Linked DNA regions of Homo sapiens: all the other regions are linked to region 5. Evidence: promoter capture Hi-C in 16 types of primary human blood cells and fetal thymus (Javierre and others, 2016). All regions are on one chromosome and are shown on one strand. The core of a region is centred on a gene start or on the middle of the fragment in contact, and the rest is flanking DNA. Distances in the headings are between cores, read along the strand shown. Region 1 has its middle 2.4 kb from the start of MIR3913-2. Region 2 holds the start of RAB3IP (RAB3A interacting protein). Region 3 holds the start of MIRLET7IHG (MIRLET7I host gene). Region 4 has its middle 15 kb from the start of LYZ. Region 5 holds the start of LLPH (LLP homolog, long-term synaptic facilitation factor). Region 6 holds the start of MON2 (MON2 regulator of endosome-to-Golgi trafficking).

Region 1 (3,408 bases), core at 736-3,235, 3.5 Mb before region 5:
TGAGAGCTAAGAATAGTTTTTACATTTTTAAGTGGTTGAAAGAAATCAAAAATTTCCTGACACATGAAAATCCTGTGAAATTAATATTTCAGTGTCCATAAAGCTTCATTGGAATCCATGGGCATACCCATACATATTTACTCTGTCACAATACGATAGCAGAGTTATGTGGCAGAGTTGAGTAGTCATGACAGGTTGAATGGGCCCACAAAACCTAAAACATGTATTATCTAATTCTTTACAGAAAAAGTTTGCTGACCCTGGTTTACAGTATTCCTCAGGTCCAACATGAAAAGGGGAGTTCAGGCTGGACAAATTGTTATTTTAAATCTCCCAAGAGTTTTCTCTTCTTTGTAGGAAAATTTGGTCTTCTTTCAGGAAATGTACTTTCCTAGGCAGATCCCAAATCGCATTCTGGAATGAGAAGATTCACAATAAAAAACTAAGATGCCTGCACAATATTGAAAAAGGTTGTTTTTATTGTGGGCAAAATTACATACCTGGAGATATTTATTATGTCCTCTGGTAGGCAAGCCTGAGACTGTGTGTGATGGGGAAACCAATGACTGCTCCCTGCTGGGCTTTGAATGTAGCCAGAGGCATTTGGATGGGGAGAAGGAGGCAGGCCCTGCCACCTTGTGGAACTGAGGCTAGAGGCAGCCAGGAAGAGACTCTATGATGGGACCCTTGGAAATGTGTCCTTTCTCCATTGCATCTTTTGACCCTTCCTTCTTTCCTACTTCCCCCTCCTTTGATGACACCTCTACACCTAGAGGCTAAACACTCAGCTTCTAGACCCAGACTATATGAGTTTGAATTTCAACCATTTTACGTACTAGCTTTGTAGTCTTGGGTGGGTTTCACAGGCTCTTTAAATCAGTTCATTGAAGGCCATTCAGAGCGTGATCAATGTGCTGGTTTACCAAAAACTGTCTCTTTTAGCTGTTTATACTTTTTTGTTGTTGTTGTTGTTGTTGAAACAGAGTTTCACTCTGTCGCTCGGGCTGGAGTGCAGTGGTATGATCTCAACTCACTGCAACCTCCGCCTCCCGGGTTCAAGCAATTCTCCTGCCTCAGCCTCCCAAATAGCTGGGACTACAGGCATGCACCACCACAGCTGGCTAATTTTTGTATTTTTAGTAGAGACAGGGTTTAACCATGTTGGCCAGGGTGGTCTCGAACTTCTGACCTCAAGCAATCTGCCCACCTCAGTCTCCCAAAGTGCTGGGATTACAGGCATGAGCCACCACACCTATATATATATTTTTTAATTGAGACAGGGTCTTACTCTGTCACCCAGGCAGGAGTGCAGTGGTGTGATCTCCACTCACTGCAACCTCTGCCTCCTGACTTCAAGCGATCCTCCGACCTGTCTCCCGAGTAGCTGGAAATACAGGCATGCGCCACCACACCAGCTAATTTTTTGTATTTTTGGTGGAGACGGGATTTTGCCATGTTTCTCAGGCTGGTCTTGAACTCCTGAATTCATGCGATCTGCCCACCTTGGCCTCCCAAAGTGCTGGAATTACAGGCAGAAGCCACTGTGCCCATCTATTTATACATTTTATCGTAATTTGTATTAGATAGGTTACAGGGCCTATGGAGATAGTGAGACCTTGGGAATCCATGTTTCTGTGATTAAACACGTTGTGTGACTTTCTCCTGGCTCATCTTCTGTCCTCTACTCTCAAGTCCCTTGGTCTTGGCTTCTCTTAGTTAACCCTTCCTCCTCCCTCAAAGTCTTTGTGACCCTCTCCTCTCTATGACCCTGTGTCCTCCTCTCTCTTCCCCTTGGTATAATTTGGCTTTCAGTGAATTGGCTTTTTGTTAACTGGTCAGCTTCCAGTTATATAATCTCTCTGTGCCTCAATTTCCCTTTGTGTAAAATGGAGATAATTATCACAGATTAAATAGCTTAGAACAGTGCCTGTTTAGCTTAGCTATTGTTATCATTATATCCCAAGTCTTCTAATAGGCTTTATAAATATAGTAGCCGAGGTTGGATATGCTTGGCATGTTATGGAAGTAGGAAAGCACTGTAGCATATCATTATTTGATGGCTAGAGGTGATTTGGGAGCAAGGGTAGATTCATTAACTGGAGTGAAATAACTGGCGAAGTGGCAAACAACCACCAGAACAGAGTTATGGGACTTGTCAACATTCCTCAGGAACAGTTAGAATACCTGGGGAAGGAAACCAAATAAAGGACCAGGAGTCCACAGTCACATTAAGTTGGGTCCACCCAGACACCTACTGTTTGGGTAGTAGGGAGAAGGTTAGAAGACTTGATATTTCTCCTGTTGCAGACCGTGATAGTTTGTACACAGGAATCAGTCTGTGGAGCACACTTAGAGGAGCACTTTAAAAAAAAAAAAAACAGGGTCTCATTATGTTGCCCAGGCTGGACCACAGTGGCAGGATCACAGTTCATTGCAGCCTCAACCTCCCAGGCTTAATCTATCCTCCTGCCTCAGTCTCTTGAGTAGCTGGGACTACAAGCACACACCACCACGCCAGTTGATTTTTGTATTTTTTCATAGAAACAGGTTTTCACCATGTTGCCCAGGCTGGTCTCAAACTTCTGGGCTGAAGTGATCCACCCTCCACAGCCTCCCAAAGTGCTGGGATTACGGGCATGAGCCACCATGCCCAGCCCCCAAATATATCTTAAATCTCAATGAACTGACACCATCAACCATCTCAGTCACCCAAACCAGATAACTGGGGGTCATCCTTGACCCCTCCATTTCTGTCATTCCCCTTATCAATCAGAGGTGTTAATTCTTCCTCCTTTAGGCCCTCTATTACATTGGTGGCCCTGAATAAACTACACTTTTGATGTTCATGCTTTTATATGAGCCACTGTAATTCAACAAAATACAACAGAATTGACATTGTGCCAGTTCTGGGCTTAGGCCTCAAGAAAGCCTAGCAGCATCTACTTTTGTGCTCTTGGGAACCCTAAGCTGCCATGTAAGAAGACCACATGAAGAAAGACCCAAGACTTCATGGAAGAAAACTAAGGAACACAGCTGAGAGCTTTAAGTTCCAGACATAACCTAGTGGAACTGGTCCAGCCAGCCCTCAGCTGCTTGAATCATACTAGCATAGGCACAAAGCATATGAGGAAGCCAGGCCTCCAGACATCATGTGAGATGAGCCATCTCTGCTGTGCCCTGCCCATCTCGATCTATAGCAACTTGAGACATTAAATGATTGCTGCTTTAAGCCACTAACTTTTAGGGTGGTTTGTTGCACAGCAGTAAACAATCTAAACAGTCCTTTAACAATGCCTTTGAATACGGATTTATCAGATCTGGCTCCATTTCTGAAAAAGCCTCTCAACCAGTCTCCCTGCTTTATTAAAATACCGTAGGGCCAGCTACTTGGGAGGCAGAGCCAGGAGA
Region 2 (3,669 bases), core at 37-2,536, 3.6 Mb before region 5:
GAGAAAAAGGATAATGAACAAGAACTGGGTCTTTCAACTGATTTACAATGGAACAGTTTTGTTGTAATCCTCTTATGGGCCCCTCCTCCAATTATGCAATCATTCCACTGCAAGAGATTACAAGGCTTTTAACCCGACACTGAACGGAAGGAGTTGGGGTGAAACAGGAGAGTGTATAACAGGTAGCCTCCGAACAGGCAACATTTCCATGAAACTAAATTGCCTCTCAGTAATCAGTACTAACTAACTCAGCGCTCGTGTCTTTCAAGACCTTACCCTTTCATCTTTTTTAATCCCATAACAACCGGCAACTCTTCACATGCTGCGACTTCCACCCAGCATCATCACTTCTGGAGCCAGTAAGCTCGCGCTTCCTGGGCGGTCGGGGCGAGTTGTCAACGCTGGGAGGGCAGAGCCATGCAATCCCACCCGTGCAGTTCGTCTCAACTCCCCCGAACACAAGTCTGGCGGCACGGAGCTGCCTACTTGGGCGCGACTCCGGGCGCCTGCCCGGAATTTCCCACCAGGTTTCACCGAAACCTCCCGAGGGTGACCTCTACGCCTCAGCACGGTGCCTCGCGCGTAGTTTCCTAAGACTGGGACACGAAACCACCCCAGGTCCACAGCCCTGCCGCGCGGCGTCCGGTGTTGTGAGCTGCTTCCGACTTGTTCGGGAACTCTCTCTTCATCCTCTTCGCGACCGCGGCCCTCCGCTCCCGGCCGCGCCCGCCCGCCGCCAGGTAACCCGCTGGACTCGGGCTCCCTGCCCCGGGCGCGCGGGACCGCGCAGTTAATGTGTAACGCGCCCGTGCCCGGGGGAGGAGCCGCCGCCCGACGCCCACCAGCAGCCCAGGGGGCGGCCGGCTGACCCGGGTCGCCAAAGTCCCCCCCACACGCCGCCCCCAAGGGCCCGGAGCCCAAGTGCCCAGGCGGAGAGCGAGCTCACCGGGCCTGGGCATCCCCCCGAACCCCCGCGTGCCGCGCCCTGCACGGCGCCAGCACCTGCACCTGCCGCGGCCGCCCCTCCTGGCCGACTCGCCAGAGGCGGGCGCGCGGGCGCCGAGGGGGGCGGTGCTCTACGCTCCGGGCCTCTCCCTCCCGCGGCCGCACTCACCTGAAGAACCCACCGCGGCCGCTGCCGGCGCTCAGGGGCGCTCACAGAGCCGCAGAGAGCGCGTCCCGAAGCAGCGAGAAACGGAGGAGGACGGCGAGCCCTTTCCGCTACACTCCACGGCGGCGGGCTCACTACGCCGGCAGCCGCCGAGGGAACGCGGGACTGCGCCTGCGCCGGAAGCGGGGCCGGGGGCCGGGAGCCGGGAGCGGCCGGTCCTCACGGAGGGAGGGCGGGGTAGGGGGGTGTGGCCGGCAGGGGCGGGGCGAGCCCGGCATGGGGCCTGGGGGCGGACGCGCTTCCGCGCCCCCTGGCGCCAGGCGGGGCTCGTCGCAGGTGTCACGGCCCTGGCCCGAGGTTCCTCCGCGGGCGGTTTCCCTGGGAACCAGCGCGAGCCGGAGCTGCGCTCTGTTTCGTCGGGCCCGCGCTCTGTTTCGTCGGGCCCGCGCTCTGTTTCGCCGGGCCCGAGAGGCGGCCTCAGGTTAACTTCAAGCATGTTGGGCTCTCCAGGAGGGAGAAGAGGCACCTTTGCCGTGGGTTGAGGACTCCTAGAACCAACCTGAGACTCCGCGGCCATATACACCTTACGACGTGTGTGTGTGTGGCGGGAGATGGGAGGGGAGGAATCCTGTAGAACCCAGATCCCATCATTCCAGCAACTGCCAGAGCGTTCGAGAATGTCATGTCTGTACCTGTCTTCTCTCATCTTTTGTGCCAACTGTTTTATCAAACTTCTACCCCACTTTAGGTCTTCCAGGTAGGAAAAATACAGAAAGAGCCAAGATCCCAAAAATCAAAAAAAAATAATAATAATAGAGGTAGTCATAGTATGTGTCTCTATGTTTAGCAAAAGAGAAACGTGCATTTGTGTGATACACTTATTGAATAGGACCATCATTCTGGGTATTAATCTCATCTATTAGAGGCAGTAAAGAAAAGTAGACTATATGTATGGTTGTTGGAGTCAGAATTACTGGGCTTGAGCCTGCCACCTGCTAGCTGAGTGACCTTAGGCAAATGAATCTCTCTAGCCCCAATTTTCTCATCAGTGAATGAGTATACAGAACCTGCCTCACTGAGTCATTAAGAGTTTAAATGGCTTAATTCATGTAAACACTTTGCGTACTTCATGACACAGAGTGCCTAATAAATATTAGCTATTGTTATTATACCATTATAACTATTATCATGCATCTGTAATCCAGAAACCTAGAAAGCCAGTGTTTCTTATTTTATACCCCATCGCCAATATATCACCAAGTCTTATTCATCCTAATTTCTAAATAATTCTTAAATCTATCTTATCTGATATTCATTGCCACTAGAAATGACCTTTCTCATTAATGGATTCCTATTCTCCCTTACACCTCATAGCTGGTCATTTATTCATCAGACATTTTATTGCACTCCATCTGTGTGCCTCCTGTTAGACATAGGGACAGAGAAACCATTACAAAGTCCCCACCATCCACGGACTCAAACATATATAGGGAGACAAGTATGTCAATAGTAGCTACGTGAAATGAATAAATTAAATATACAGCAAACCACTTAGGCTCCCCAGTCTTGCCGTACTCACATACAACCCTGTATTTCCATATGCTGTTTATTTTTATGTCTTGATCTCCTACCTTTTCCTTGCCTTGCTAATTATTTGTTATTCATTATTTAGCCTAGACATCAATTCCACTGTGAACCCTTCCCTATTGTTGGCCACTCAGCCCTATCCCAGCCACTCCAGTATGGGCTAAGTGCCCCTACCAGGGCTTCCATAACACCGTATCTCTTTGTAACACTTATCACATAGAGTTATAATTGTATCTGTATTTCTCCATTTTCCTGGACTGCGAGCTTCTTGAGAACAGGCACAAGGTCTGACATGCAGTAGGACTGACTCAGTAAATGCAGAATGAGTGAATGGCATGCATGCAGAGTGCAGTCTTGGTATGTGAATGTTTAGAGGACAAGTCCTATGATATATTCTACATAAGACCTAAGACATCATGATCTATAGGAAATAGTAAGCAGTAACCATATATGCCTGAGTCCTGCGTTGGTCCATTTACAAATCACCTACCATCCATGAGGCTTTTTGAAATATACTGAAAGATGTTCCTCTTGAATACTTAACCTGTTAGCGCTGTTTGAGAAGAGTGATATAGATTGTTACCTATAATAATACTTCAGTGTTCTTGCAGCACAGAGACCAAGATACATTACAGAATATTAGACACTCAGAATCTCAGCCTACAAAGTATGTAAAGGGCTGTGAGCATCTTAAGTTTGATAGCTTACCCATATATAAAAAGGACAGCTATTTCACAAAATTTAAAAATGTGAAAGATTTGGATGGGCACGGTGGCTCATGCCTGTAATCCCAGCACTTTGGGAAGCCAAGGTGGGCAGATCCTTGAGGTAAGGAGTTCGAGACCAGCCTGGCCAACGTGGTGAATCCCCATCTCTACCAAAAAAAAAAAAAAAAATCAGCTGTGCATGGTGGCACACACCTGTAGTCCCAGCTACTTGGAAGGCTGAGGTGGGAGAATCACTTGAACCCG
Region 3 (3,344 bases), core at 82-2,581, 3.5 Mb after region 5:
ACTGCTGAAAGAAGTGTTAGAATTTTTTAGGGTGAAAAAGTTATCTGTATCAATTATCTTACACAATTCCACTCCTTCCTTCAAGAAAAGGAATCCAATGGCTTAGCTCTTTCCCAACCTTTAAAATGCATCGCGGTCCACCCCACTCCCCTCAATTCCTTCTAGGAAAATGTGAAACTAACGGTTTCCGTGGTGGCCGCGCCGGCCGGGCGCCGAGGCTTCGCGGGCTGTCCCCAGGCAGCGCCCCGGAAAACAAAGGGGATTCCCAGCCATTGTCCTCCGCGGCGCTGAGCATCACCAGCACTAGCAAGGCAGTAGCTTGCGCAGTTATCTCCACAGCGGGCAATGTCACAACCCGACCAACAGCACAAACTACTACCTCAGCCAGGGCCATGGTGTCGGGGAGGCACGGGACCACGCGGAGGGCAGCAAAGCGGCTCCGGCGCTCCTCCGTCCTTCCTCGCCGCCGACGTCGGCCCGCCGCCCCTTCTTTTCCTTTGCCTTCCCCCCGCGCCGCGCCCGGAGACCCCGCCCAGCACCCAGCGGCTCGGCTACTCCCGGCGCGCCCCGAGAGCTACGGGGATGAGAGGCGGCGCCGGCGCCCGGGTGATACAGCCGGCGTTCTGTACGTCAGCCACCGCTCTGAAGAGAGAAAAGCGGCGGTGTCCTGCGGAGAGAGCCGCTCCCTCCACTGCCCGAGGGGAGCGCGTCGCCTCAGCCGCTCGAAAGCAGGAAATGGGCGGCAAAAGCGCAGTCAGACACCAACTGGTTCTGGACTGCCCCCGAGAGGCAGCGAGCAGCGCTCCCGCGCTTCGCCCGCTAGGAGCTGCCGCCACGTCCCGAGCTGCGCCGCTCGCGCCCCTCCCTGCTCCGAGTCCCCGGTGGGGGCTGGGCTGCGGCCGAGTCCGGTACCCGGGCCCCCACCCGCGCCGCGCTGTCGAACCCGCCGCCGGCCCGCTCTCGGCGCCGATAATCGCCGGCGGGCATCCCGCAGAGGCTGCCGCCGGCTCCGCCAAACAGCAGCCAAGGCATAGCCGGGAAGTCCCCAGGCCACCCGTTCCCCAGCACCCTTCGGGGAATTCCCGTTCAGCTCTACAGGAGGCGAAAACGGAACAAACGAAAACCCCTTAACAGTGAAACCGGGCCCGGCGATGGCCCGGGTGGCGACTGCGACGACTCGACGCGTGCGGACACAAGACCCGTCTCGCGCTCCGCTGCTCCTGTGCGTCCGGACGAACCTTAGAGATCACTTAAGGAGGCTCGCGCGCTACTCCTCACCACGTGACCGCCCCGCCAGGCCGCCCCCCGCGCCGCCATCTTACATCCGGGACAGAGGCGGCGTCCCCTTTCCCTGCCTTGGCAGGCGTCAGCGTGCTACCAGAAATCAGCCCTGAAAGAGGGGACCCCGATTCCACGTCACCAGAGTGCTGAGGCAGCGGGCGATGCCCTCCATCGGCTCAGCGGGGGGGAGTGGAGTCCCAAACTTTTTTCGGCCTTTGCCCGCAAAGAAGATGGCGGCGCATATCGCCGCCTAAGCGGACACGTTGTACCCTGGCCGTGGTTTGAAGTTTCCGGCACCTCCTTTCCCAACCAGCAAGGACACAACCATACGAGCCCCACCCACGCGGGGTGGCTGCCGTGCTACATTCCGCAGAAAACAGGCGGGAAAGCTGCGGCACAGCCCGCTTTAAACGCAAGCTTTTGGGACTTCTGGTTTTGGCTTTTTCTTTTTAAGCCAAGTTAGGGAGAAGGCTGACTGCCATGGAGCCACTTCTGCTTTTGGCCCAGACAACTTACGGGATTTTTTTTTTCCTCCCATTTAGAGATTTTTTGTAGGAAGTTAACAAATTATTTTAAAGAAGTAGTTAGGGCTTGTCAGATAAAATACAGGACGCCCAGTTAAATTGGAATTTCAGATAACCAGTGTTTTGGCATATGTGTGTTACATATATTTTTAAAATTGTTTATCTGATATTCCAATTTAACTGCACATTCTCAATTTTTAATGACTGTATCTGGCAACCCTATCAGCCTTTACCCCTGAAAATCCAGACTGCTTATGACAAAAGTAAGGAATGGAGGGAAATGAAAAGCATGTTTACCTACAACTTAGAATTGTCTTTGCCCAGACTTTGATCCTTCATGGAGGCCAGAGGGCCGTGGTCTAGAACAAAATTTGGCAGCAACTCATAAAGATATCCTTGTATAATTCCCTTTCTGGCAAAGTAAGATTTTTTTTTTCTTAAGCTATCACGATGTAATTTTGGACAACAGATCCTCTTGGCCAAGAGTTTAATTGCAAATTAAAAATTAAATAACTGGCTTTTTGTTTCTATTCTACATGGTATAGGCGATGGGACCCAAACAATTTCTTAAAGTAGAAGTTTTCAAGTTAAAAATCAGCCTGCCTGACATATTTCATAAGAACATTTTTAGGTGCATATTCAGAAACTATTTCCAATTAAGAATATTTGTGTAAACATAATACATTTGCAGTTAAATGCTTTACCTGACAAAGCATAAACTCACCTATCAATCACTAAGCATAAACTCAAAGCAAAAACTCAATCACACCATAAACTCATCTATCAATCACTTACCAGAAAGTCTGTAGAAACTTCACACCATCCTTCCTTGATAAGCAAAGATTGGACTGCCATGGGAATCAACCCTCACTGCTCATTGACTGCGCAGTGGATCAGATTATTCTGTACCAAAGCAAATGTCCTTTGCCATAATGGCACAGATTTTTAAATGGCCACTAAACACCTGTTTGGTCTATGGTATACAGATTTGTTACAGCAGTAGTTTCCAACTAAATTTAGTCATTATACTACTTTATCACTTACATTCCTTTCCATAATGTTTTTAACAGTGCTAACACCAATATACTCATCATCCACATATAATGTACTGTTACCATCAACTTTTTCTCCCCCCTCCCTGCATATCAGGAATCTTAAGTATCCTTTCTGAATATGACCACCGTTAATCAATTCTTTATCATCACCTCATAGCAAGAAAATTGCAACAGCTTTCTAGCTTAGCTTTCCATACTGTATATATCCTATCCTGCTTATGATTGCAAGTTTATCTTCCTTGGTTTTATAATTTATTCTTAAATCACTCCAGACCCTGCCATCTCAAATCTAAACTACTCTCCTTGGCTTTCAAGGAATTTTATGAAGGGACCCAATCCTTCACAACCAACCTTGTTTCACACAATACACCAAAATGCACTGTTTTCTATTTCACAGATATGCCTTGCTCACATTATCTTGCCTGAAATCCCTCCGTATATCCTTTGAACTCATCCAAAATCTAGGTAGCCATCAAGACTAACT
Region 4 (3,658 bases), core at 1,067-3,566, 3.2 Mb before region 5:
GTGATGATGGAGCATGGAGGGAACCTGAAGTCTGTCTGGAAGAGATGGTGAACGCTTCATAGAATTTCAGCTGAATGAGAATTGGGGGAAGAATAGAATTTTGTTTAGTGGACAAGTGGGGTAGAAGACTTGTGGTAGAAACTTCCAATACTCACCCATATCTAGTTCCCTCTCCTTCCAGGCACAGAGGAGGATTATACTTCCCTGTCCCCTTGTAGAGTTAGGCGGAGTGATGTAGCTAAGTCTAGGCAATGAGCTATGGGTAGAAATGTCATTTCTAAGCTGAAACATTTAACTGCTGGTGCAAAACACTCCAGTGCTCTTACTTTTCCTTGGCAACTGATGAAGTTGTATGTTTCAGAAAGTGTAGCTAGCTACCTGATGGTGGAACCTCCGGCAGCCTGAGCGTCTGAGTGACTATGTGGAGCAGAGCCACTTGCTAAACTGTGATAGGCATTTTGGAATGAATAAGGAATAAAATGCGTGTTAAGCCACTGACATTTTGAAATTGTGTTATTTCAGCATTCCAGGTAGAGGTAAACATATTTAAAAATAAAAGAAAGGAAGAATAGACAAATCTTCCATGCAGGAGAATTTCAAGTACTTTATGTAGATACTCTGCCCTCAAGGAAGTATTGAGGCTGTGCATAGTGACTTCCTTCCAAAGAATACAGTATGGAAACGAGGGAAAAGAATAATTTCACAGGAGAGAAACCTGACAAATTCTACTTCAGTCAGTAGATCAATGTTAACATCAACAGTGATAAGCCACATTGATAAGTATGCATCCTTGATATGATGTGATGAAAATGGTATTTGCCTCTGTGGTCTTTCTCTCCAAAACATATAACCCCAGTCTCACCATAAGAAAAACATCAGACAAACCTCAAATGAAGATTATTCTACAAAATACCTGATGAGTACTCAAAACTGCCAAGCTCATCAAAACAAGGAAATTCTGAGAAACTGTCACAGCCAAGAGAAGCCAGAAGAGATACAACAACAAAATGTTATATGCCACCCTGGATAGGATCCTGTAACAGAAAAGGGGCATTAGGTAAAAACTAAAAAATCTGAATAGAGTATGAACTTTAGCTAATAATAACATATCAATATTGGTTCATTAATTGTAACAAAGGTACCTTATTGATGTAAGATGTTAGTAATAAGGGAAAGTGGGTGTGGGGAATACAGAAATGAACTGTCTTATCTTCAGGATTTTTTTGTAAATCTCAAACTATGCTGAAATTAAAAGTTTATTTAAAAATAAACACTGCCTCGGCAACATAGTGAGATTCTGTCTCTTAAAAAAAAAATTGGCCAGGCATGATGTTACATGCCTGTAGTCCTAGCTACTCTGGAAGCTGAGGTAGGAGGATCACCTGAGCTCACGAGGTAGCGCCATCATTGTGCCACTGCACTCACTCCAGCCTGGGTTGCAGAAGGAATCTCTGTCTCAAAAAAAAATAAAAATAAAAAATAAAATAAAAAAAGAAAAGAAAGGAAAAAAGGTATAAGAAAGAATATGGTATGCTGTGGAAGTTCCTTTCAAAGTAGAAAGTGGAAGTGAAGAGCTTGGCTGGGTAAATGAAGAATCTTTTATGCTATTAAAAGGAAATTCCATTTTTATTGTATAGGTTAGGTGAAGGATCCCTAGAAGATCTATGGATAGGCTTCAGAGGTGTTGCTAAACCTCCAAAATTATATAAAATTATATTGCATATTTTTCTCAGAAGAAAGTAAAAAGCTTTATTATTTATTCTCAAAAGTATAAGTACCTAAAATAGGTTAATAATCACTGCTGAAGGCAATGTAAAAACTGAAGTCTTCCGAGTAAAAGGAATGACACAATTGTATTTTTTTGTGTGCCAAAAAGGACCATAGATCACTTTTTGCTAGGACAGACTAAAGTGATTTGGTGTGTGTGGGGGTGTGTGCGTGTTTGGAGAAGGAAGGCCAAAATGAAAGGCAAGATGATAATAAAGACAGTGATCTTCAAACTTTTGAACGTGGTACATTTTGCAAGGGGAGAAAACTGTTGGGATTCACTCAGGATGGTGGCAGAAAGAATAAAGGGAAATATTAGGGAAAGTTATAGGAAATAGTCACAAACCTTTTAGAAGGCCGAAAGTTTACATAGCTTGTAATAATTGAACAGGCCAAGGCGGCCAGTTCTTACCTTAGAGCATTAGGTCATAGGGTAAATACAAGGGACAACAGAGGCTTCCCCAGTTAAGTCTGTTTACCCAACTTCAATTAACTAACCTTTGAGCCAGATGGCCTTCTCTGGGGAGGTCTACCAAGGATATTGCCCCCTAATGGTATTTGTTACACGCGTCCCTGTGAAGAGACCACCAAACAGGCTTTGTGTGAGTAACAAGGCTGTTTATTTCACCTGGGTGCAGGTGGGCTAAGTCTGAAGAGAGTCAGCAAAGGGTGGTGGATTATCATTAGTTCTTAAAGGTTTTGGGATAGGCGGTGGAGTTAGGAGCAATGTTTTGTGGGCAGGGGGTGGATCTCACAAAGTACATTCTCAAGGGTGGGGAGAACTACAAAGAACCTTCTTAAGGGTGGGGAGATTACAAAGAACCTTCTTAAGGGTTGGTGAGATTACAAAGTACATTGATCAGTTAGGGTGGGGCAGAAACAAATCACTGTGGTGGAATGTCATCAGTTAAGGCTATTTTCACTTCTTTTGTGGATCTTCAGTTGCTTCAGGCCATCTGGCTTAGCTTGGGCTGAGAGGCCTGATAGTATTTACCTGAGACCGTGGTACCTGAGTTTTAATCATTCCTAGAACTACTCTCTTAACCATGTTAATTATCCACAAGTGTGTTTACTCAAGTTTACTCAAAGTGTGTTTACTCAAGTTTACTCAAAGCTTCTGTTGTTAATTGTATACTAAATAAATGCCTGGAGTTCGAGCTGCTCAGGGCCGTCCACAGTGACAAACCTCTCTAGGTGTGCAGGCGGCTGGACACTCAGCTGGACTGGCAAAACAGAATATCTGTGTGTCAGTGTACGTTTTATTCATCTGTCGTTTGGGTCAGGGTCTGAGGGCAGACCCCGCGGCTAATGCCTTCACGTGTGAGGAGCAATACCTCAGCTGGTGGCCTGTGTGAGGAAACCCGTGTGAGGAAAGCCCTGTGAGGAAAGCCGTGTGAGGCCAGTCAGGGGTCTGCAGAAACAGACTCCCCGCAGTTGGAGCCCCTCCTGAGGCAAGCTGCCTAGGAAGAGTGAGGACTGCCCTCATGAGGAAAGCTGCGAAGGAAGCGTGAAGGAAAAGCGACGGACCCCCCGGAAAACAAAGGTGAAGAAAGGAACCGCGCGGTCAAGTCAGTGAGTAATCAGCAAGTCATTGGTGCCCACTCAAAGTTACCAAGTTCTGGGGGAAGTTGGGTCAAGCTGAGTTTTCATCATGGGACCACAGTTATTAGCACAGCAGAAACATTATATGAAAGTATTAAAACAGTTACTTAAGGCTAGCGGAGCCTCAGTTTCACAGGCTCAATTAAGGGACCTAATCATCCATGCTAGACAAACTGTTGCAATGCAAACTCTTGTGATCCCAAGCCCGTGGTTCCCGGAAGAAGGAACGCTAGACGTAGAACTCTGGGAACAAATGGGGAGAAATCTTAACATGTGCAAAGGCAACAGG
Region 5 (3,499 bases), core at 978-3,477:
ATATCTGAGAACTTCTGTATTTCTTGAACGTAATTTGGGAAAAGAGATGCAGTAGGCCGTATACACCTGCCTTGATTTCTTCTCAGACCTAGCTTCAGTCTACTTGATGCATTTCCAGGGATTAGTGGTCAACAGCCTGCAGCTGCAGGCCTTTTTTTTGGAGCAGCTAAGGACTTAGATACTTTTTGCTTTTTCCTTTCATTTTTCTAGAGCTTTGTCTTGAAGTCCCCATTATCTAGGGAATGGGCAACATGGGGTCACTATCTGAATCCCAGAAGTCTTCCTGTTCCTTACTGATTGTGCAGATCAGGGATTCCATGGGAGAGGCCTGACTGCAGGGGCCCCACTGACTGTTCTGCATCATGTAGCATGCCTTTTGGATGAGAAAATCAGTCTGCTTCCTGTAAGGTATTCAGGGCCACCCACTGTGCCTCTAGTTCTATATATAGGCTCCTTCCAGCTCTGTGATGAGCCACTGCAATGTTTAGTTGGACCCTTAAGCCTTGTTTGTCCATTAGGAGATAAAGTTTCCCAAAAACAGTAGTTTAGTTTCCTTCATCTTTGCAAATTCAGCATAGTGCCTATAATAGAGTGCATATTCAAAGGCATGAATGAAGGAATGAATTAGACTTTTAAATATACTAAGGCCACTTTTCTAGAACTGCTTTTATATAACTGGTGAGGGGACATAAGTAAAAAGGAGTAAAAGGGTGTTTTACTCAGCTGTTTAAAGCACTTGTAATGCTAAATCATGGCATGGTATTTTAACAACATGACATTTTCATAATAGGTAAATTATTTTTTCTGGTGCCAAGTGCCTATTCAAAAGTCTTGTCCTGGTATGTTAAACAAGATACAGTAAATATGGACTATCAGAATATAAGTTTTCTCTAAAATGCAATGTGCACTTATATTTTTGGGTGAGGTAGCTAACTTCTCATTTGAAAGATGAGGTACAGTATATGGTTAACTTGTAAAACAGAAATTCACTTGCTTTATAAGAACGAAATCTCATTTAAATAAACCAGGTTTCTTAGGCATGCTTCCTTTTTTTATATCAAATGTTCTAGGTTTTTTTCAGCCTCTTTAACCTTGCTATATTCTGAATTCAGTAATTTCCATACTATGCATGGTTTCATAAAGGACACAAATTTAAAGAAAAAAGGTACCCATAGATTGCCTCAGAACCCCTTTTTCTGGCAACCAGCAGGAGTTTACCAGGCCATCATTAAAGACATGTTTTTTGGGTATATGTCGTAAATCTCTAGAAACATTGCTTACAAATAGTACTGTGTAGCTATACTTTTGAAACTATAATGTAAAAAGGGTACCATTTGTTGAACTCTTACAGCATCAATTAGGTTGTATTATGTTCACTTTAGGGACAAGGAAATTCAGGCCCTTATGACATTAATTACTCACCCATATCGTTCACAAGTGTTGGAAGCAAGAGTACAACACAGACCTATATGGTTCCAAAGCCTATGCCAGTAGAAATAGTTGTACAGTAAGTGTTATTCGTGAGCTAAGACAATCGTCCTAGGCTTAGCATTGTGTCTGATACGTAAGTGATCAGACAGGTAAACATTGATAGAACTGAAATCCTTTGATCATTTTACCCTTTAAATTCTTCTCTGGGGTAGGAAAAGCTTGTTTTCTGTTTTTGGTAACCGCTTTGAGTATAACTGACATGCAATAAGTTGCACATATTTAAAGTGTGCAGTTTGATACGGTTTTACATATGTGTACATCTGTGAGGCCATCACCCGAGATGAGAAAATGCACAGGCTGCAAATAAAAATGATCTCAATACGGCCTCTGGAAGAACACCTGATCTAGGCTGACTTGATCTAAGGAAATACATGAGTATCATGTAAACGCTGAGGTCAGATCTAAAGGTCGGCTCGGAGCTCCCTATCTGACAAGTAGGGTCCCCTGGCCAGGTTCACTCCATAGGTTAGTCTCGGGGCTACCCTGCCCACGTCCGGAAAGCGGACCTACCTGGGGCCTAACCTTGACCGGACACCCGTCAGCATTCTCCAAATCCGACTTCTACACCTGTATGGGACGGACCAAGTTTCTAGGTCCGCGATCACACCAATGGCGGAAGCTCGTCAGCGCCCGGGTTCCAAAATCCCGCCTCTCAAGGCTTCTTGAGACATTTTGTCTCCCGGCGTGCAATGCGTCCGCCCCGGGTGGCCTCCGCCCGGAAGACGGAAGTGCAAAGACTTCCGGTCGGCGTGAGCGTGAGGTGTGGGTGTTCGTTTCTCAGGTGAGTTCGGTTCCTCACCGGTCCAGTGACACATGGGACTTGGGGCTTGATTCCGCCACCCTTGGAGAATTTCGTTTCTTGACACTCGCTGGGCTATACTTGAGCTCCAGTCCGGAGATGCAGGCCTTGTTGAGGGCGAGGGTTCCCCTTGCTCTTTTTGGTGGGGGCCCTCCGGCTTCCGAGTGCACTGGATAAAGTGGAGCCCACCCCTGTCGTTCACTCCCGCTGAAGTTAACTTCGGCCCTCAAGGTTGTTTGCCGCCCGCTTTCCTAGCCCCTCGCAAGGGTTGAGTTATGTAGACAAGGGAGCGGAATGACTGTGATTGCCGGCGTTCAAAAAATGTTAGTGGTTCGTTCAACAAGTATGCAAAAAGTGTGCGATTCAGCAGTGAACAAGACCTTTCCCTCTACCTTCGTGGAGTCTACAGTCTGGGGAGAGGGTCGGGGGGCGTGACAGAAAACAATGGTTTCAGGTTGTAACACTTAATAAGCAGGGAAGGGAGCTTACGGAGGTCAGAGGAGTCCTTTCTGAGGTAGCGAATGAAGGAGCAAGCCTTGAGAAGAGCAGTTGCCAGGCATAGGGACAGCAAATATGAAGGCACTGACGTAGAGATAGTTTGGACTCTTTACAGACGTAGTTGGTGCCTGCGGGGATGGGGATGGAGAATGAAATGAAATAGAGTTGAAGGAGGCAGGGGACAGATCACAAATGACCTTGTAGATCTTGAATATATATGAGGGAGGAGGTCTTTAAAGAACTCGAAGAAAGGCAGTGAATGCTTTTTTAAAAGATCACACTGAGCACCTTGTGGAGGATTTAGGGCGGAACTGAGTGGAAAGAAAACAAGAGTAGGAATAGATAAGTTTACAGTCGTTAAGTTGGCTTGAGAGGATGGATAATGAAGATGAGGTGAAGTGTTTATAAAAATCATTTGTAATTTGTAAGCTGTTGCATAAATGTAAGGTGATGACGCTGTTGCATTCTGGGGAAATTAAATTTCTGTATTTTGTAAAGAAATTCAGCCGGGCGCGGTGGCTCAAGCCTGTAATCCCAGCACTTTGGGAGGCCGAGGCGGGCGGATCACAATGTCAGGAGATCGAGACTATCCTGGCTAACACGGTGAAAACCCGTCTCTACTAAAAATACAAAAAATTAGCCAGGCGTGGTGGCGGGCGCCTGTAGTCCCAGCTGCTCGGGAGGCTGAGGCAGGAGAATGGCGTGAACCTG
Region 6 (3,876 bases), core at 780-3,279, 3.7 Mb after region 5:
CAGTTCTACAAATTATTGTTGAAATTACAAAATAGTGTTTGATATTTTCTAAATGAGAGCATTTCTCTTATAATTAAAACAACTTAATTCTTTAAAATTCTCTAAAACAGCCTAATTCTTTAGATTTACTTGTTATAACTTTCAACAGAGGATATAAAAAAAATGAAAATCAATATCAAAACAGACTATTGACTATGTGAAATAAAACATATCGTAACAGCCATCTTTCCAAAAGTGGCACATCTGGTTTCCATCACTGGGTAATACTTTATTAAAGAAATACAAGATGGAGTTTGTTGAAAACTGATAAAACCAATGCACTTACAGAAAAGTCAATATTCCTTACAAGCCTAAAATCCAAAATTTATTGGTCAAGTTCTAATTACATAATCTTCATAATAATAAAGATATATTTAAATAAGTATGTAAATATGAAATCCCTCGGTGAATTTTTAGGGCAAAGAGTAAATGAAATTGCAGGTAAAACAAACTACATTAAATAGGAATAAAAATAAAAACAGCCGGGCGCTGTGGCTCACGCCTGTAATCCCAGCACTTTGGGAGGCCGAGGCAGGGGGATCATCTGAAGTCGGGAGTTCGAGACCCGCCTGACCAACATGGAGAAACCCTGTTTCTACTAAAAATACAAAATTAGCCGGGCCTGTTTTTGGTGGGTTTTTTTGTTTGTTTTTTTTTTTTAGAGAATTAAAATGGCATTTTAAGAGAAAAAGCAAATAGTAACCAAATGTTAAATATTTCACCTCAAGAACTATTTGGAGAATTAAATTTCCATGTATTATTTACTGGGATCTCTTTAATAATACCCTTCTGCTCTGACATCTTTCCCATACATAATATAAAACCATCCTTTAACCCTATTTTACAGCTGGAAAAAAAAACCCGAAGCTCAAAGAGGTTAAGATTTATTGCTGGAACTAAATTCAGGTGTATTCGCTCTGACTGCAAGCCCAACTTCCCACTACAGTACTGCTCATAACAAGGTTTAACATGATTATGTGGATCTTCAATATTCTTCATAAATTAGGTGGCTCTGGATAGTTTATTAACACGTCAAAGGATTGATACAGAGTTAAGCTGAATGATATATACCAGAAGGAAAATTGTTTCCAATTCAGTGATATGCCATAAACGTGAGGAGTACAGGTTTCAACAAGATGGGTGGATACTCGTTTCGGGGAGCAACAAACAAGTTTTTCAATTTTGGTTTGGCCAGTTTCAAGTAAGAAAAAGGCCAGAATAGGCTAGTGCACAGTACACCTAGCTGGATTAACTGAATAGGCTCACTTCATGAACTTCACTCCTAAACTGGGAGGACAGGAGAGGGGAGAAAATCAAAGTGCCTCAGCCCTCTCCAGTGGAAACTATAAAAAGCCCTTGTGGAACAACCCACCGACTCACAAATCTGGAAAGGTGAGGCCTGAATGAAAATTAGGACTGGAAACTGGGGTGAAGCACTGAGTCTAACAGGACCAGGCATGCTCACAGTGCCTTCTCCTGACGTCACCTGAAGCTTACCTCTTTGACAGGTGGGAATTTCTTCTTGCACTCCAGTGACAAGGCGCGCAAGTCGCTCTGCATATTCTCCAGCAGCTTCTTCACCGCCTCGGGGCTGCTGGTGCCGGACATGATCCTCCAAGGTCCCAGCCAATTTCCGAGAGGTACAAACAAGCTCTGGCACGGTCAGCTCCTTAGGGCCACAGGCAGCTCCCTCCCGGTGTCTCTGGTCCTTCAGCAGCCCGCTTCTTGGGCCCTGGGCTGCGAACCCGGAGCCTGCTCGAGCGTCCCCCAGCAGCTTCCCCGCAACACCTCTGGCTTTTCTCGGAGGCGCCCCCCGCAGTCGCACCGTCCCGCTAGGCTCCGCCGACTCTGGCCGAGAAACCCACAAGGCGGGCAGGTCCCTCCGCTGCCGCGGGGCCCAGCCACACCGGGTGTCACCAGCCAACCTGGCAAGAAGCTTCAGCGCCAGCTCCCCAGGCCCCTAAGACTCGCCGACGCCATTAGCCGAGTCGCCCACAATTCCGAGCGCTGCCGGGACACGTCAGCCGCACTTCCGGGTACCGTGGCCTCCGCCACCGCCGCGGCCAACCCCGGCGGCAGGCCGTCGGCGGGGCGGGGCTGGGGCTTGGCCATGCTCGGGGCAGGCGGGATTCCGGGTGGGCAGCGATTCCCACAGCCCCACCCCCGGAATCAAGTAGGCTAGACAGGGTTTAAGGCGTCAAGATTCGCTTCGTTTTCATTAACAAGTGCCTGAACAGAGCCCCCGAGTACTCCTTGGCATATCTCTTTGCGTATGTTTGTGTTAAATTGTATTTCGGTGTAAATAATTTGTTTCCCTGTAGATTAATCTTAACGTGTCTCCTCCCGCTTCATTTCGAATCTCTGGACTAGTGGCCCCAAATCAGTGGCTACCTCCTGTTAATATACATTTTTTTTCTTTAAACGCAACTGGTGCACTTACTGTGGGGTAGCCTCTTATTTTCCTAATCTCTAAAATGAGACTACCCTCTGCTCCACGCATTCCGCTGGCCTCCCATCTCACTCAAAGTAAAAGCCAAAATTCCTCCAATCACCTACCAGGCGCTACGAGATCTGTCCCGGCCCCTTTACTGGCAGATGCTCCCAGCTAAAAGGAGAGTTTCGCGAGTTGGGCTGCCGGTTCTTCCTCTTTTTAAATCTTATTTTGTTTCCTGTGTATCTCCAGCACCTAGAACAGTGTCTGGCATATAGCAGGTAATCAGTACATACTTGTTGAATGAATACCCTTCTATTATAAAATCAGAGTTTCGAGGCTCAAATAAGGCACAGATACATAAAAGCCTTCATCAGGTCTGAAGTGCCAAATAAATATGAGGCAAAAGCCAAACAGAAAAATCTTCATCTGTATTTCCCCAAGATCCAGGTTGGTCTACTTTTTCCCCAAGACATTTTGCAGCTGCTGGTCAGAAAGCAGAAAATGAGGGAGGAAAAACCAGAAACAGTAGAGATGAAGAAACCAACACCTTCAGACAGCTGAGCTTATGACATGATGGAAGACAGTGAGCCATGAGATTGTCAGTGGATAGCGCTGTTTGGCTGTAACAGAGCTACTTTGTAAGCTAAATAATTTTATTTTATTTTTCCTTCTGATAAGAAGCAAAGCAAGGATGGATAAAGGGGACAGATGAGGTAATAGTAGAGAGCTCCTAGGGCAGTAATTTTGATCATTTGTGCCTATTACACAACTTCTGGGAAACTTGACACCTCCTATGGTATAAGCTTTATGTATGAAAACTGGTGAATTTAGCAAAAAAGTTCAAATGGAATATATGGCAGACATTATTCTTGAGGTCTCAGGGAGCTTGTAAAAACGAGGCGCTTTTTTTGGGTGGGGGGTGGAGACGGAGTCTCACTCTGTCACTCAGGCTGGAGTGCAGTGGCGCGATCTCCACTCACTGCAACCTCCACCTCCCAGGGTCAAGCAATTCTCCTGTCTCAGCCTCCCGAGTAGCTGGGACTACAGGCGTAGGCTGCCACGCCCGGCTAATTTTTTGTATTTTAGTAGAGATGGGGTTTCACTGTGTTGCCCAGGCTGGTCTCCAACTACTGAGCTCAGGCAATCCACCTGCCTTGGCCTCCCAAAGTGCTAGGATTACAAAGGCGTGAGCCACACCGCAGGCCTTTTTGTTTGTTTGTTTGTTGTTCTTTTTAGTAGAGATGGGGTTTCAGCATGTTGGCCAGGCTGATCTGGAACTCCAGAGTACAAGTGATCCACCCACCTCGACCTCCCGAAGTGCTGGGATTACAGGCATGAGCCACCACACCTGGCCAAAAATGATGCTTTAGTAATTGGGCTAGTGATATAGGATCAAATTCTCT

The links. Contacts are between HindIII fragments. The CHiCAGO score rates a contact against its expected background, and 5 or more counts as called.
Region 1: a fragment that was not itself captured here is called in contact with the fragment with the promoter of LLPH in region 5 in 2 of 17 cell types (activated CD4 T cells and non-activated CD4 T cells); the score reaches 7.3 in activated CD4 T cells.
Region 2: the fragment with the promoter of RAB3IP here is called in contact with the fragment with the promoter of LLPH in region 5 in 1 of 17 cell types (total CD4 T cells); the score reaches 8.6 in total CD4 T cells.
Region 3: the fragment with the promoter of MIRLET7IHG here is called in contact with the fragment with the promoter of LLPH in region 5 in 6 of 17 cell types (naive CD8 T cells, naive CD4 T cells, non-activated CD4 T cells and 3 more); the score reaches 12.2 in naive CD8 T cells.
Region 4: a contact is called between a fragment that was not itself captured here and the fragment with the promoter of LLPH in region 5, in 1 of 17 cell types (naive CD8 T cells). The highest score is 10.2, in naive CD8 T cells.
Region 6: a contact is called between the fragment with the promoter of MON2 here and the fragment with the promoter of LLPH in region 5, in 5 of 17 cell types (fetal thymus, naive CD8 T cells, total B cells and 2 more). The highest score is 8.0, in fetal thymus.

Annotation. Positions count from the first base shown.
Region 1 is chr12:69,580,616-69,584,023 of GRCh38, reverse strand. No RefSeq gene overlaps it. Among named protein-coding and RNA genes, the nearest start is that of MIR3913-2, 2.4 kb to the left of the region's middle. The HindIII fragment of the contact is 3,759 bases long and covers 106-3,408 here.
Region 2 is chr12:69,736,477-69,740,145 of GRCh38, reverse strand. RAB3IP (RAB3A interacting protein) reads right to left here and starts at 1,286. Exons shown (of 11, transcript NM_022456.5): 1 at 1,115-1,286. It overlaps LOC101928002 (a long non-coding RNA gene), which reads left to right and starts at 1,596. Exons shown (of 4, transcript NR_110072.2): 1 at 1,596-1,868. RefSeq lists a silencer at 709-1,538. The HindIII fragment of the contact is 14,222 bases long and covers 1-3,669 here.
Region 3 is chr12:62,600,730-62,604,073 of GRCh38, reverse strand. It overlaps MIRLET7IHG (MIRLET7I host gene), which reads right to left and starts at 1,331. Exons shown (of 2, transcript NR_186001.1): 1 at 1,239-1,331. It overlaps LINC01465 (long intergenic non-protein coding RNA 1465), which reads left to right and starts at 640. Exons shown (of 1, transcript NR_121682.1): 1 at 640-2,323. MIRLET7I (microRNA let-7i) reads right to left here and starts at 388; the gene lies at 305-388. RefSeq lists enhancers at 1-469, 470-991, 1,098-1,287, 1,368-1,477, 992-1,513 and 1 more and silencers at 318-617, 708-1,017. The HindIII fragment of the contact is 3,704 bases long and covers 1-1,700 here.
Region 4 is chr12:69,331,583-69,335,240 of GRCh38, reverse strand. No RefSeq gene overlaps it. Among named protein-coding and RNA genes, the nearest start is that of LYZ, 15 kb to the left of the region's middle. RefSeq lists an enhancer at 2,357-3,071. The HindIII fragment of the contact is 1,134 bases long and covers 1,750-2,883 here.
Region 5 is chr12:66,129,478-66,132,976 of GRCh38, reverse strand. LLPH (LLP homolog, long-term synaptic facilitation factor) reads left to right here and starts at 2,227. Exons shown (of 3, transcript NM_032338.4): 1 at 2,227-2,272. LLPH-DT (LLPH divergent transcript) reads right to left here and starts at 2,226. Exons shown (of 2, transcript NR_125724.1): 1 at 2,002-2,226. RefSeq lists enhancers at 2,204-2,313, 2,354-2,503. The HindIII fragment of the contact is 2,232 bases long and covers 1,652-3,499 here.
Region 6 is chr12:62,464,979-62,468,854 of GRCh38, reverse strand. It overlaps MON2 (MON2 regulator of endosome-to-Golgi trafficking), which reads right to left and starts at 2,029. Exons shown (of 35, transcript NM_015026.3): 1 at 1,537-2,029. The coding sequence starts at 1,647. RefSeq lists enhancers at 1,373-1,872, 1,868-1,977 and a silencer at 2,008-2,327. The HindIII fragment of the contact is 1,301 bases long and covers 1,978-3,278 here.